Regions from separate parts of the Homo sapiens genome. Here all the other regions are linked to region 1. The links are contacts of gene promoters, found by promoter capture Hi-C in blood cells and fetal thymus (Javierre and others, 2016). All regions are on one chromosome and are shown on one strand. The core of a region is centred on a gene start or on the middle of the fragment in contact, and the rest is flanking DNA. Distances in the headings are between cores, read along the strand shown. Region 1 holds the start of SPATA6L (spermatogenesis associated 6 like). Region 2 holds the start of RANBP6 (RAN binding protein 6). Region 3 overlaps ERMP1 (endoplasmic reticulum metallopeptidase 1).

What was found. The method cuts DNA at HindIII sites, captures the fragments that hold promoters and counts their contacts. A CHiCAGO score of 5 or more calls a contact.
Region 2: a fragment that was not itself captured here is called in contact with the fragment with the promoter of SPATA6L in region 1 in 1 of 17 cell types (fetal thymus); the score reaches 5.1 in fetal thymus.
Region 3: a contact is called between a fragment that was not itself captured here and the fragment with the promoter of SPATA6L in region 1, in 1 of 17 cell types (monocytes). The highest score is 5.6, in monocytes.

What each region holds. Positions count from the first base shown.
Region 1 is chr9:4,665,230-4,669,687 of GRCh38, reverse strand. SPATA6L (spermatogenesis associated 6 like) reads left to right here and starts at 3,208. Exons shown (of 12, transcript NM_001353486.2): 1 at 3,208-3,476. The coding sequence starts at 3,438. PLPP6 (phospholipid phosphatase 6) reads right to left here. Exons shown (of 1, transcript NM_203453.5): 1 at 4,430-4,458. RefSeq lists silencers at 3,280-3,359, 3,370-3,419. The HindIII fragment of the contact is 11,868 bases long and covers 1-3,331 here.
Region 2 is chr9:6,012,324-6,017,317 of GRCh38, reverse strand. It overlaps RANBP6 (RAN binding protein 6), which reads left to right and starts at 1,694. Exons shown (of 1, transcript NM_012416.4): 1 at 1,694-4,994. The coding sequence starts at 1,711. RefSeq lists an enhancer at 1,816-1,875. The HindIII fragment of the contact is 2,610 bases long and covers 780-3,389 here.
Region 3 is chr9:5,827,785-5,832,778 of GRCh38, reverse strand. ERMP1 (endoplasmic reticulum metallopeptidase 1) reads left to right here. Exons shown (of 15, transcript NM_024896.3): 1 at 1-89; 2 at 1,751-2,052. Among named protein-coding and RNA genes, the nearest start is that of ERMP1, 2.8 kb to the left of the region's middle. RefSeq lists a silencer at 1-95. The HindIII fragment of the contact is 813 bases long and covers 844-1,656 here.

The sequences.
Region 1 (4,458 bases), core at 1,959-4,458:
GTGAAAGGGAGGCCAAGCATGGTGGCTCATGCCTGTAATCCCAGCACTTTGGGAGGCCGAGGCAGGTGTATTACTCAAGAACGGGAGTTCAGGACCAGCCTGGCCAATATGATGAAACCCTGTCTCTACTAAAAATACAAAAATTAGCTGGGCATGGTGGTGCGTGCCTGTACTCCCAGCTACTCGGGAGGCTGAGGCAGAAGAATGGCTTAAACCTGGGAGGCGGAGGTTGCAGTGAGCTGAGATCGCACCACTGCACTCCAGTCTGGGTGACAGAGCGAGACTCTGTCTCAAAAAAAAAAAAAAAAAAAAAAAAAAAGGGAGAACCAGAGAGATGGCAGCATGAGAAGGACTTGGCTCTATGTAGCCAGTTTTGAACATGAAAGAAGGAAACTTTAAGCCAAGGAATACGAGCAACCTCCAGAAAAGCAAGGAAACAGAAAGGCAAGGAATGCAGCCCTGCAGGCACCTTGATTTTAGCCCATTGAGATCTGTGTTGGACTTCTCACAAAATTAAATAATAAATTTGTCTTGCTTTAAGCCCCTAAATTTGTTAAGCAGCCATAGGAAATGAATACATTGTATGTATTTACACTCCCATCAATGTGTTTTCCCATACCCTTCCCACTAGTGCTGTCTCTTTAATAGTTTCTTCCTTTCATATGAATACACTTATTATTTGAAATATTTATGATTTTTGTCTTATAATTAATTTTTTTAGTTAAAAAAAAATCTCAGCCATAATTATCTGTCATATTCTTGTTCTTTGTTAATTTACTCTTTGGAAAATCCCCATTTGGGGCATGTTTCATTTTCTTGTCTGGGGCCAGGATGTGAACGGGATGTGCTGCTGTATCATTTCTGCAATGCTGATGTCACTGCTGGCCAAGCTGCACTGCAGATACTCTCTGGAAATAGCAGTTGTTCATTGAAATCTGTTTGCTGCCACCAAGAGGTACCTACCCAGGTAATAAAGGCTTTCTCTTGAAGTGGTGACAGTCCAATCCTTAAAAGGCTTTGTTGGCCCCCGGCAGAGGTGGACAGCCTCAATGATAAATAACTTTGCAAGATGAGTGAGAGGGACTGGGTGTGTATAGCAACTGCCACATCTCCACAGCAGCTGAGAGCCTCAGGTAACCATGGCGGGGACAATTAGGAGAGTGTGAAGTATCCCCATCAACTCATTTAATATCACCATAGCAGATTTGCAGAAGTAGCTGTGCCTGGTCCTTTCTAATTCTGCAGATTTCTTTTACCCATTGTGATGGGACCTCTCTTTATCCATGTACATTAACCCCCACAGATTGGCTTGACCATCTCTGCATTTAATATTCAAAAATATTTATTATCTTCTATCCTATTTAGGGTATAAACGCTTAGCCATGCAGAGTTTACAGATTAAGGAGACAAATAGTAATCAAGAGTCACAGGAACAAATGTAAAACTGCTATTATGGCAGTCGCTACAAAGAGGAGATATATATATTTATATGTATGACATAAGATATGATATTGAGATTCCACCTTGTCAGCAGAAGAGAGGTCTTGGTGGGGTATGTAAATCTGTATACATGTGTTAATCAATGTCTGCAATGGATGACACTCTAAGTAAAGGGTATAGAGTGAGGAAAGGAAAGGACCTAGAAACATTGCTTAGCCAGAGGAGGATAAACAGACAAAGAAAGAATAGCCAGAAAGTTGGAGGGAAACCAGAAGAGAGCTGTGCCCTAGCAGCCAAGCAAGGAGAGTCCAGTTAGATCAAGAGTTAAGACTAAGAAGAGCATAGAATGGAACATTGTGTCTCTAGAGATCAACAGGATGTCTATATTGCAGACCCAGTGATGTGGTAGGGCACACCTGGATTCAAATGTGGCTGCTCCCTTATTAGGTCTGTGGCTTTTAGTAAAAGGCTGTCTAGCTTCAGATTCTGCATCTGTAAAATAGGGATAATATCTCCCTGATAGAGTTATTGTAGGGTTGAGATGAATTAGCATACGCAATGTGCCTAGCACTTTGCAGATCCTCAGTAAAGACTGATTCTTCTCTCCCAATACAACTCTGGCTATTTATTAATTTGTTTTGCTTGTCACTCTCCTTGATTTCTTAGCATTGGTGTTGGTGACCTACCTGTTAGGATCATCACAGGTCCTGTCCCACATCACTCTGGGTGTCAGCAAGTTGTGAGTGACAAATCAATGATCTGGACACTATAGATAGTTAGGTGCCCACCTGTATCTCTTGATATGCAGAGAGACACAGCACTAGGAACTGGATAAGGATACAATATGCCCTTCTTCATCATACCAAGTTTTTCCCTTCCAGGGAAATAAACTCCAGTTACCAAAATGAATACCCAATCTTGTCTTGACCATCCTTCTGCACTATTTCCAATTGTATAACTCTCTAATGCAAAATATTAGTAATAAATGACTGAACATAATTTAGGATTTAAAATTTTTTTTTCAGAGGCAGCATTGGCCTTCCTAGATTTTTTGGATTGCTAGAAGGAGCCACTACCTGCTCCTTTCCTTCATTTTTCTCTATTAGATGTAGTGAATGTCCCCTACTCATTCAGAACTCTTGCTCTGCGCACCACCTCTGACAGTGTTTACAGTAACTGTGGTTTTGGCAAATGCAATAACTACCCATTGGACTACTCAATGCTTGCCTTAAACTAAACCCCAGAAAAGGCTGGACACCGTTATGGAAAGACTGACATATTTCTATTGCTGCTAACAGGGGATACCTAACTTTTAAATATGTTTAAGAATTAACCTTATATTTCTAATTAGCACACGTTTGTTATTGACGGTGGCCATGTTTTCCGAAGCAAACATAACATTTAATAAGCAAAAGAGTATTTTTAGGAACAGGCAACTATATTAAATGAGAATTGTTACAGAAACTACAAGGCTTGGGGTCGTGCAGCTACTAAACGTGTACTATTTAAATTATAACAGACCTATGATCTCATTCTACTTTCAGAATGAAAACGGTAAACATTCTGACATGGTAATTGGGGATAGCAGGAGCTGATGGAAAGAAGATCGGGATTGTTAGCATTTCTCTATCCGTCTAGCACGCCAGACAGGGCCAGTCTCTCCGGCTGGGGGCACTGCGTGGGCAACAGCGACCGTGAGGGCGCGCGTCTGCGCTGGGGCCTCGCGCGCGTTCCACGATGAAGACTGCGCGTTTGAGTGTCCCTGGCAACGCCACGCTTCCGCCTTCTGGAAGCCTGCACTCCAGCTTCGAGTGTGAGAGACCCGTCCCGGTGGGAGGGACCTGGGCTGGGGGGGACGGTAGGGGAACAAGGGCGTGGGACTGGGGAAGCTTCTGGGAACATTTGCTCTAGGTATTCAGCTAAACTAAGAAAAATTGGTCCAAGGCTCGGCACAAAAGGATCTTCTCATTCCAGTCCTTTCGCCCACGCAGGGAACGATGCCTCTGGAGGTGGTGGTGGAGCTGCAGATCCGGGCGGTAAGAGATCGATGAACTCCCCCTCCTTAACCTCAAGTCGGACTCTAAATAGTCTCAGGTGGTTTTCAACAACCCTCCCCCACATCCCCCACTTACCACAAACACATCATTATCTTCTGGGACAGATCGCACCTTTGTCTTTTTCTCCATATTGGTTTTCCCTGACTTCCTAACCTTTAATTCAGCTCCACCTGTTCCCACTTTTTTTTTTTTCTGTTCTAAAGCTAACATGTTTCTTATCTTTATCATGAATTTTTAATTTCTTTTCAAACAACCCTGCATTAAGTCCAGGTAGAATTTATTTTCTTCTCCTGGATAAAGATTTGTGAAAGGATTTTCAACTTCTTTAAATAACCAGGGAATAATTTTAAAAAGCTCCATCACTTCCTGATTATTTGCCAACTCTATGAACCAATCAGATATTTTCTATGATATTTCCCCTTAGTGATAGCTCTGGCTTGCTAATTCCAAAAGGGAAATCAATCAATCACTATTTCGTAATTACCAAATCCTTCCTAAGTGAAGTGCTGTGGCAGAGTGACTCCATGGTTTCTACTTGGGGGTCTGTCACTCCCTCTTATTTCAGTTTCCATTTTCCAATCCTTCCATGTAGTTAGTAACAGAATATCATGCCGCTTTTCCTCTAGGGGCTTTTCTACTGGCTATGATTACAAGCACAGTGCTAACAGGAAATTGTCATGGAATCTGGTTGTCTTCCATACAATTGGCAAATGGTGTGGTTTCATCATACATGTGGGTGTGAAAGGTGATCAACATTTCCTGGATTTGTCCCACTTTGCTGACAGCAAATAGGGCTAGACCTTATTAGTAGTGCTATACCAGTTTTAAGCTCTAAAAATTGTGCAGGAAGAAGGAACTCTTGAGAAGCTAAGTGATAAATCTGTCTCCCTCCTCATCAAGGCAAAAATTAAGCAAGTTTTCATCTCACTTCATTCACCATTATTTGTTAATTTTATTTTGA
Region 2 (4,994 bases), core at 835-3,334, 1.3 Mb before region 1:
TGTGGCAAGTGCTAATACAAAAGTAAGACCTAATCATTGTTATAGGAATGAAACTTGTTTTTGATTGACACACCTGCCTGAATTAAAGAAACAAACTGGCCAGGCGCGGTTGCTTACACCTGTAATCCTAGTACTGTGGGAGGCCGAGGCGGGTGATCTCTCACGAGGTCAACAGATCGAGACCATCCTGACCAAACATAGTGAAACCCCGTCTCTACTAAAATACAAAAATTAGCTGGGCGTGGTGGCATGCGCCCATAGTCCCAGCTACTCAGGAGGCTGAAGCAGGAGAATTGCTTGAACCCAGGAGGCAGAGGTTGCAGTGAGTTGAGATCGCACCACTGCACTCCAGCCTGGCGACAGAGCGAGACTCCATCTCACAAAAAAAAAAAAAAAAAAAAGAAACAAATTTAGTTTCATCAACATTTGTTTCTTGGAATAACCTCAGCAGCTTCCCACTAATGGTTAGTTAGGATTCTAGTTAACCGCATCCCTTCATATTTCAGTTTAGACAAGATGCAAGGAAAATCTTGAGTAACTTGTCCTAGGATACAAAATTAATTTAGTGACAAGGCCAGGATGCAAGTCTGTCTTCTGATTATTAGTTCAGATCACTTTCTACCATACTTTACTCAGTTGTCTTTCCCATTCTTTATTATAACCAACAGGCCAGGTGATTCTGACACACACCAGATTTTGAGCTACCACTCTACTGCATTAGATGTGGTAGTGGGGAAGTAATTATTATTTTATTATCACACTTATTATTTTATAAAGCTTTATTGTAGTATTATTTATATGCCATACAATTCACCAATTTAAATTTAACAACTCAATGGTTTTTAGTATAATCACAGAATTGTGCAACCATCACAATTAATTTTAGAACATTTCATCACTCAGAAAGAAACACCCTATTTGATAGCAGTCATTCTCTATCCTCCCCTCCCCCCAACCTCTGGCAACCACTAATTTCTGTTATACAATTTGCCTGTTTGGTACCTTTCATACAAATGGAATCATACAATATGTGGTTGTGACTGGTTTCTTTCACTTGGCATGTTTTCAAGATAGACTTATTGTTTTAAAATTATCAAAGTAACAATATAGTTTAGAAATAAAAGAAAAAAATCACTCATAATCTGACCAGAAGCAGTGGCTCACACCTGTATTCCCAGTACTTCGGGAGGCCGAGGCGGGCAGATCACCTGAGCCCAGGAGTTCGAGACCAGCCTGGGCAACATGGCGAAACCCTGTCTCTATAAAAAACACAATTAGCCGGGCGTGGTGGCGCGCGCCTGTGGTCCCAGCTACTGGGGGAACTGAGGCGGGGAGGATCGCTTGAGCCCAGGAGGTTGAGGCTGCAGTGAGCAGGGATCGCGCCGCTATACTCCAGCCTAGGTGACACAGCCAGACCTTGTATCCAAAAAAAAAAAAAGTCATGATCCCATTCTAATCAATGCTTTTCTTCTCTCGCCTGCAAGTGCACGTTTATCTTATTGAAAAACAAATGGAGGATGCCATTGGCCTCCACACGGCTCTCACCTCTCTCCAAAACCTAGCTCGCAGCCTGCCAGAGCGCAGCTAGAGTTTCTGGGCAGAGGAGGGAGAAGCACCCCGCCCATCCCCGCCGGCGCCTCGCCTACGTCACTGCTTCGAGCCGCAGACCCCCTCCCTCCTTCCCGGTCGCGGTAGCTTTGACAGAGCGCAATGGCGGCAACCGCGTCTGCAGGGGTGCCGGCGACCGTGTCAGAAAAGCAAGAGTTTTACCAGCTTCTGAAGAACCTGATCAATCCAAGCTGTATGGTGCGGAGGCAAGCAGAGGAAATCTATGAAAATATCCCAGGTCTGTGTAAGACTACCTTCCTCTTAGATGCCGTCAGAAATAGAAGAGCAGGTTATGAGGTGAGACAAATGGCTGCCGCACTGCTACGACGGCTTTTGTCCTCTGGGTTTGAGGAGGTTTATCCAAATCTGCCTGCTGATGTTCAGAGAGATGTCAAGATTGAACTGATTCTGGCTGTTAAGTTAGAAACACATGCTAGCATGAGGAAAAAACTTTGTGATATTTTTGCAGTGCTGGCCAGGAATTTGATAGATGAGGATGGCACTAACCACTGGCCGGAAGGTCTGAAGTTTCTTATTGATTCAATCTACTCCAAAAATGTGGTTCTATGGGAAGTTGCACTTCACGTTTTCTGGCACTTTCCTGGGATTTTTGGGACCCAAGAGCGGCATGATTTGGATATCATCAAACGGTTGTTGGACCAGTGTATTCAAGATCAAGAACATCCAGCAATCAGGACATTATCCGCTAGAGCTGCAGCTGCATTTGTACTTGCTAATGAGAATAATATTGCTCTTTTCAAAGACTTTGCAGACTTGCTTCCTGGAATCTTACAGGCTGTGAATGACTCATGCTACCAGGATGATGATTCAGTGCTAGAATCCCTTGTTGAGATTGCAGATACCGTACCTAAGTACTTGGGTCCTTATTTAGAAGATACTCTACAGTTGAGTTTGAAGTTATGTGGAGACTCTAGGCTTAGTAATCTGCAGCGCCAGCTGGCCCTCGAAGTTATAGTGACCTTGTCTGAAACTGCCACTCCGATGTTGAAAAAACATACAAATATTATTGCACAGGCAGTTCCTCATATATTAGCAATGATGGTTGATCTACAAGATGATGAGGACTGGGTAAATGCTGATGAAATGGAAGAAGATGATTTTGACAGCAATGCAGTTGCTGCGGAGAGTGCACTAGACAGACTGGCTTGTGGGCTTGGTGGAAAAGTTGTTTTACCAATGACCAAGGAGCATATCATGCAGATGCTTCAGAGCCCTGACTGGAAGTATCGACATGCTGGATTAATGGCCTTATCTGCCATTGGAGAAGGATGCCATCAACAAATGGAATCAATTCTAGATGAAACAGTTAACTCCGTTTTGCTTTTTCTTCAGGATCCTCATCCAAGGGTGAGGGCTGCAGCCTGTACTACACTTGGACAGATGGCTACAGATTTTGCACCTAATTTCCAAAAGAAATTTCATGAAACAGTGATTGCAGCTCTGTTACGTACCATGGAAAATCAAGGTAATCAGCGTGTGCAATCACATGCAGCTTCTGCTCTTATTATTTTTATTGAAGACTGCCCTAAATCATTGCTAGTTCTATATGTGGATAGTATGGTGAAAAATCTACATTCCGTCTTGGTGATTAAACTTCAAGAGTTGATTCGGAATGGAACTAAGTTGGCTTTGGAACAACTTGTGACAACCATTGCATCAGTTGCAGATACAATAGAAGAAAAATTTGTCCCATATTATGATATATTCATGCCCTCACTAAAGCACATTGTTGAGCTTGCTGTTCAGAAGGAACTCAAGCTTCTGAGAGGAAAAACTATCGAGTGCATTAGCCATATTGGTCTTGCTGTTGGGAAGGAAAAATTTATGCAAGATGCATCAAATGTGATGCAGCTGTTGTTGAAGACACAATCAGACTTAAATAATATGGAAGATGATGACCCTCAGACCTCTTACATGGTTTCAGCATGGGCTAGAATGTGTAAAATTCTTGGAAAAGATTTTCAACAGTACCTTCCACTGGTTATCGAGCCTCTTATTAAGACTGCTTCAGCTAAACCTGATGTTGCTCTCTTAGACACACAGGATGTGGAAAATATGAGTGACGATGATGGCTGGCAATTTGTAAATCTTGGAGACCAGCAGAGTTTTGGAATTAAAACTTCAGGACTTGAAGCAAAAGCAACTGCTTGCCAAATGTTGGTTTACTATGCTAAGGAGTTAAGGGAAGGGTTTGTGGAATATACAGAACAAGTTGTGAAGCTGATGGTTCCTTTACTGAAATTTTATTTCCATGACAATGTTCGAGTGGCAGCAGCAGAGTCCATGCCTTTTCTCCTGGAATGTGCAAGAATTCGTGGCCCAGAGTATCTTGCACAGATGTGGCAATTCATATGTGACCCCTTAATCAAGGCTATTGGTACTGAACCAGATACAGATGTGCTCTCAGAAATAATGAATTCTTTTGCAAAGTCCATTGAAGTTATGGGAGATGGTTGCCTTAATGATGAACACTTGGAAGAACTGGGAGGAATACTGAAAGCAAAACTTGAAGGGCACTTTAAAAACCAAGAATTGAGACAGGTGAAAAGACAGGAAGAAAACTATGATCAACAGGTTGAGATGTCTCTGCAAGATGAGGATGAATGTGATGTTTATATTCTGACCAAAGTATCAGATATTTTGCACTCATTATTTAGTACTTATAAGGAAAAGATTTTACCATGGTTTGAACAACTACTTCCATTAATTGTAAATCTAATTTGTTCAAGTAGGCCATGGCCAGACAGACAGTGGGGATTGTGCATATTTGATGACATCATAGAGCACTGCAGTCCAACTTCATTTAAATATGTAGAATATTTTCGGTGGCCAATGCTACTAAATATGCGAGATAACAACCCTGAAGTCAGGCAAGCTGCTGCTTATGGCCTGGGTGTCATGGCACAGTTTGGTGGAGATGATTATCGTTCTTTATGTTCAGAAGCTGTTCCACTTCTGGTAAAAGTTATTAAGTGTGCAAATTCCAAAACCAAAAAAAATGTCATTGCTACAGAGAACTGTATCTCAGCAATAGGGAAGATTTTGAAGTTTAAGCCTAACTGTGTAAATGTAGATGAAGTTCTTCCACACTGGTTATCATGGCTTCCACTGCATGAAGATAAAGAGGAAGCTATTCAGACTTTGAGTTTTCTCTGTGACCTAATTGAAAGTAACCACCCAGTTGTAATTGGTCCAAATAATTCCAATCTTCCCAAAATAATCAGTATAATTGCAGAAGGAAAAATTAATGAGACTATTAACTATGAGGATCCTTGTGCCAAACGCCTAGCTAATGTCGTGCGTCAGGTACAGACTTCTGAAGATTTATGGTTGGAATGTGTATCACAACTTGATGATGAACAGCA
Region 3 (4,994 bases), core at 1-2,500, 1.2 Mb before region 1:
CTGCGGACGCTGGTGCAGCTCTCGCTGCAGCAGCTCGTGCTACGCGGGGCCGCTGGACACCGCGGGGAGTTCGACGCGCTCCAAGCCAGGTACCGGCCGCTCCCTCCTGGCACGGCCCGCGCGTCCGTTTGCGGCTCCTGCGCAGGCTCCGGGGCACCGCACCTGTGTGCACCCGCCCCTGCCGGACCGCTGGGACTCGCTGACCCCTCCCAGGCTGCACGTGGGGTGGGGTGACCTTGCTTGTCCTTCTTCTGGGGTCTGAATTGCCGGGACTTGGGGCTTGCCTGTCCCCGGTTAAGCTCGTGGTGCAGATTGGGGTTGCCAGGTAGATTGAACCTGCTTTCCACTGTCTGCCCTTCGTGCAGATGGTTGGTTGTGAGTCGTCTCCCCATATTCTGGAACAGCTTCCCCTTTTTACCTTGCTTAGCCCTTCTGCTTTCCAGATGGAAATTTGTGTACCTAGACTGTTGTATAAATTCGCTTTGGGGGCGGGGAGTTTTGGAAGGCGCTAGTGCACTGTTCTAACTTTCTGAGGGTTACAGCCCCCACATCTGAAGGCTATAGAAACTCTTTCTGGAACACCGCCCAGTCAAAATTTGGTATGCAGTCTGATAAATTCTCAGATCCCTGCAGTTTATCTTTAGGCCCCTTGGATTAGTGACTGTGTAAGGTTTGACTTTTTTTTTTTTTTTTAAGACCTTTAAGAATGCTAGGAAAGGTGATTAAGTCAAAGATATTGTAACCCAGGTGTGTCAAAGCTCATGAAGTGTTAAGCTGGCGTCAAGTTTTCAACAGCTACTGTGTTCTAAAAAGTTTTTGCTAGAATGCAAAGTGTTGCAAGCTTATTAAGGACTTTCTGAAACGTCTCCCACCCCCACTTCCAGCTTTCCCCACTTGGAATGCAGTGAAAAGACAAAAACAGTTTTGTTTTCATTAGGGGTACAGTTGGTTTTGGCCTGAATTGAAGTTATTAGACCTTGGGTGTATGCTAGGAGGGCTAGGTCCATCAAAAGTTTCCCCCGCCCGCCTTATTTAACCTCTTGACTTGATTATTTTTGCTCATTGGTTTCTGCTACTTAAAGTCATTAACCCAGAATCTGTAACGTTCAGGAGTATGCACAGTGAAGTTATATTCTATCCTGCTTAGTCTTTAGCTTTTTTTGTTTGTTTTCTGAGACAGGGCCTGGCTCTGTCGCCCAGGCTGGAGTGCAGTGGCTCCATCTCGGGTCTGTAGCCTCCACCTCCCAGGTTCAAGCAGTCCTCCCACCTCAGCCTCTTGAGTAGCTGGGACTACAGGCGGATAGTAGTCTACATCTGGCTAGTTTTTGTAGTTTTAGAAGAGATGGGGTTTCACCATGTTGCCCAGGCTGGTCTCAAACTCCTGAGCTCAAGCAATCCACCCACCTCAGCCTCCGAAAGTCCTGGGATTACAGGCGTGAGCCACCGTGCCTGGCCAGTGGTCACACGTTTTGAATACATCCCTAGTCCTTGTATTGGTTTGATATGGGGAGAAGTTGGGAGTGGGATGGTGGAGAAAACTGAAGGGGTCAACTCGTGGGAGGCAACAATAAAAATATGGAACTTTATAAGTGATGTTCACTTGGTGTCTGAAATAATGAAAGGCGGTCCCTTTTATATAAGGCAAAGAACTAAGCTTTTTTGGGGAGGAAGGGGTGTGTAGTGGAAAAGTTACCCACGCTAAGTGTCAATTTTAACTACAAACCTTTGTTATTCTTTTGGTTACTTCCAGGGATTATCTTGAACACATAACCTCCATTGGCCCCAGGACTACAGGAAGTCCAGAAAATGAAATTCTGACCGTGCACTACCTTTTGGAACAGATTAAACTGATTGAAGTGCAAAGCAACAGCCTTCATAAGATTTCAGTAGATGTACAACGGCCCACAGGCTCTTTTAGCATTGATTTCTTGGGAGGTTTTACAAGCTATTATGACAACATCACCAATGTTGTGGTAAAGCTGGAACCCAGAGATGGAGCCCAGCATGCTGTCTTGGCTAATTGTCATTTTGACTCAGTAGCAAACTCACCAGGTATGTACCTGTTTTTTAGTCATTTGGAACTTGTCACAGCCCAGAAAGTTTATTAACATAACCCCAAGCTACTTGGGCAATTGTGGGGACCATTTTCTTGGGCAAACCTTTTTTCTTTGTGATGGAAAGCAGGATAATTAGGATAGTATCATTTAGTTTAGGATCTAACCATTCTGTCTTCTCTTAAGTGCTTTATTAATATTATTTTTTGGTGTTAATGCCAGCAGCCCAGTGATAAGACTTGGAATGTTTCTGGTAGACTGAAGCAGCTTTCTCAATGTTACCAGACAGTGTGTGTGTCCTAGTGTCCTGGAGTTAGGTTCTGACACTTAGAAAGTGTTTTACTCAGCTGGGTGTTATACTAGGCTTTGGGGATACCACATAAGGACAGTCCCTGCCTTCAAGGGTTACTGCATGGTTTTAGAGCAGGGGTGTCCAATCTTTTGGCTGCCCTGGGCCACATTGGAAGAAGAAGAATTGTCATGGGCCACACATAATATACACTAATGATGGCTGATGAGCTTAAAAAAAAAAACTCATGTTTTAAGAAAGTTTACAAATTTGTATTGGGCTGCATTCAAAGCTGTCCTGGGCTGCGGGTTGGCGGATATCTCTTCTAGCAGATTCTGTTGACCTATAAAGTGAGAATTTTGCTCCACTGAGGGTGCCATACTGTTAAAGTACCTAATTAATGTGTAAATCTTTCTCTGAAAATCATTTGGCAAAATAGAATACTTGCATTTAGGACAGTGCCTGATGCAGTATATATTTGTCAAATGAATGGGAATCCCCTAAATTGAACTTCCATTTATTAAAATATTTATTTTTCAGAAAATTGTATTCAGTGGTTAAAGGGATTGTAAATAGGGATGGAAAATAGCATTTACAATGGCATAGCATTTTAGTGGTAGACAAGACCTGAGATGGCATCTGGCTGAACCCCTCATTTGATACAGGAGTACATTTAGCTAGCTGGTCATCGCTGATCAGAGACAAAACTAGGATAAGATGCTGGATTTCCTGGCCAGTCAGTTCTTTCAGCTACATTTGAAAGGAAAAAGAATATTAGGGTGTAATTAATACTCCCTTTTGCAAATTGCTTAACTTCTTAGTTTCTCATCTGTGTAATGGAGAAAATAATAGTACTTTCCTAATAGTGTTGCTTGGAGGATTAAAAATAAGTAAAACGCTAAAATAGTACCTGGCATGGAAAGTGATTTTTAAAAGTTTTTATTAACTCTTATGTAATATTAACACTTCTGGATTACTCGAACTTATAGCAGGCCAAATTTGAACGTCTAGAGTTATACAAAATGTAAGTAAAATTTATTTGCTTGATAAAATGATTCATATTAGAATATCTTCATTTAGAAAGCTTGACAATTGCGTTTAGAATGTAACTTGCATTTTCAAAAATCAGTATACACACGTTTGTTAAATAAGCCAGAAGTACCTTCGTGTGCTGCTGGGGTAACCAGTGGTTTAGTGTTTTTTTTTTTTTTTTTTTGGCTGGGGGGCCAAGTCTCACTCTGTCACCAGGCTGGCATGCAGTGGCACAATCTTGGCTCACTGCATCCTCTGCCTCCCGGGTTTAAGCGATTCTCCTACTGTGCCACCACACTCGGCTGATTTTTTTTGTATTTTTGGCAGCGACAGGGTTTCACCATGTTGGCCAGGCTGGTCTTGAACTCCTGACCTCAAGTGATCCGCCTACCTCAGTCTCCCAAATTTCTGAGATTATAGGTGTGAGCCACTGTGCCCGGCCACCAGTGGTTTTTTTATGTCCATTTCAAAGCAGTAATAAATGTCACTCTTTGCCCACTATTATGATGCTTAAATTCTGGGAAGCGGCAAATAAACACCATGGTTGCTTAAGAACATTATATAAGAAGGCTGTATATACAAGAATTAGCAGCAAATGTAGGGACAAAAGAAAAAAGTTTCCCCTCTACCCTTCATAGTTCTTAGCTGAGTGGACCCCTGTAACAAAAGACAGGTTAAAAAGAGAAAAACCAAATAGAAGTTTATTAACACATGCACTTCATGTACATGGGAGATACTCAAGGAAAATGAGTACATCTCAAAGAGGTGGCTTAGAAATCTGGCTTATGTAGCATCTTCAACCAAACAATACATTTTTAGAGAAGTGACAAAGGAAAAGGACCTTGAGTCTCGAGGGGTGGCAAATTGAAGGAAGGCAAATAAATGGTAGAGAAAGGTTAGTTAGTAAAGTGTTATATAGATTCCTTTTGTGCTGTTGCCAGGCCACCAAAAGTTTAAAGTTGTCTTTCTTGATCAACCTTTGTACTTCCTGGTGGAAAGGGGAAGTGGGGACACCTTGGTAAATGTATACCCTGCTTTTAGGCAAACAAGGGGAGGGCAGAGAGCTTTTTTGTATAGTACCTGCTTCTCAGTTGCCTTCAGCTCAAAATAATCCGTATGTCAAAGTGACATATTTTGGAGTGCATATTCAGTTACTCTTTACAAACATAGTGCCAAATGTTACAGATTGTATATGTGGAGTCTAATAATTAAAGGCCAGCATTTTTGTGAGCCATTAGAACCCACTTTTTATTATTATGTTTTAAATAATAGAGACAGGTTCTCACTTTGTTGCCCAGGCTGGTCTTGAACTCCTTAAGTGATTATTCTACCTCATCCTCCCAAAGTGCTGGGATTACAGGTGGGAACCACTGTGCCTGGCCTAGAACGTACATTCATTCATTCATTCACTTATTCATTTATTTATGAGGCGGAGTCTCACTCTGTCGCCCAGGCTAGAGTGCAGTGGCGCGATCTCGGCTCACTGCAAGCTCTGCCTCCCGGGTTCACGCCATTCTCTTGCCTCAGCCTCCCGAGTAGCTGGGACTATAGGCGCCCACCACCATGCCTTGCGAATTTTTTTTTTTTTTGAGACGGAGTCTCGCTCTCGCCCACGCCAG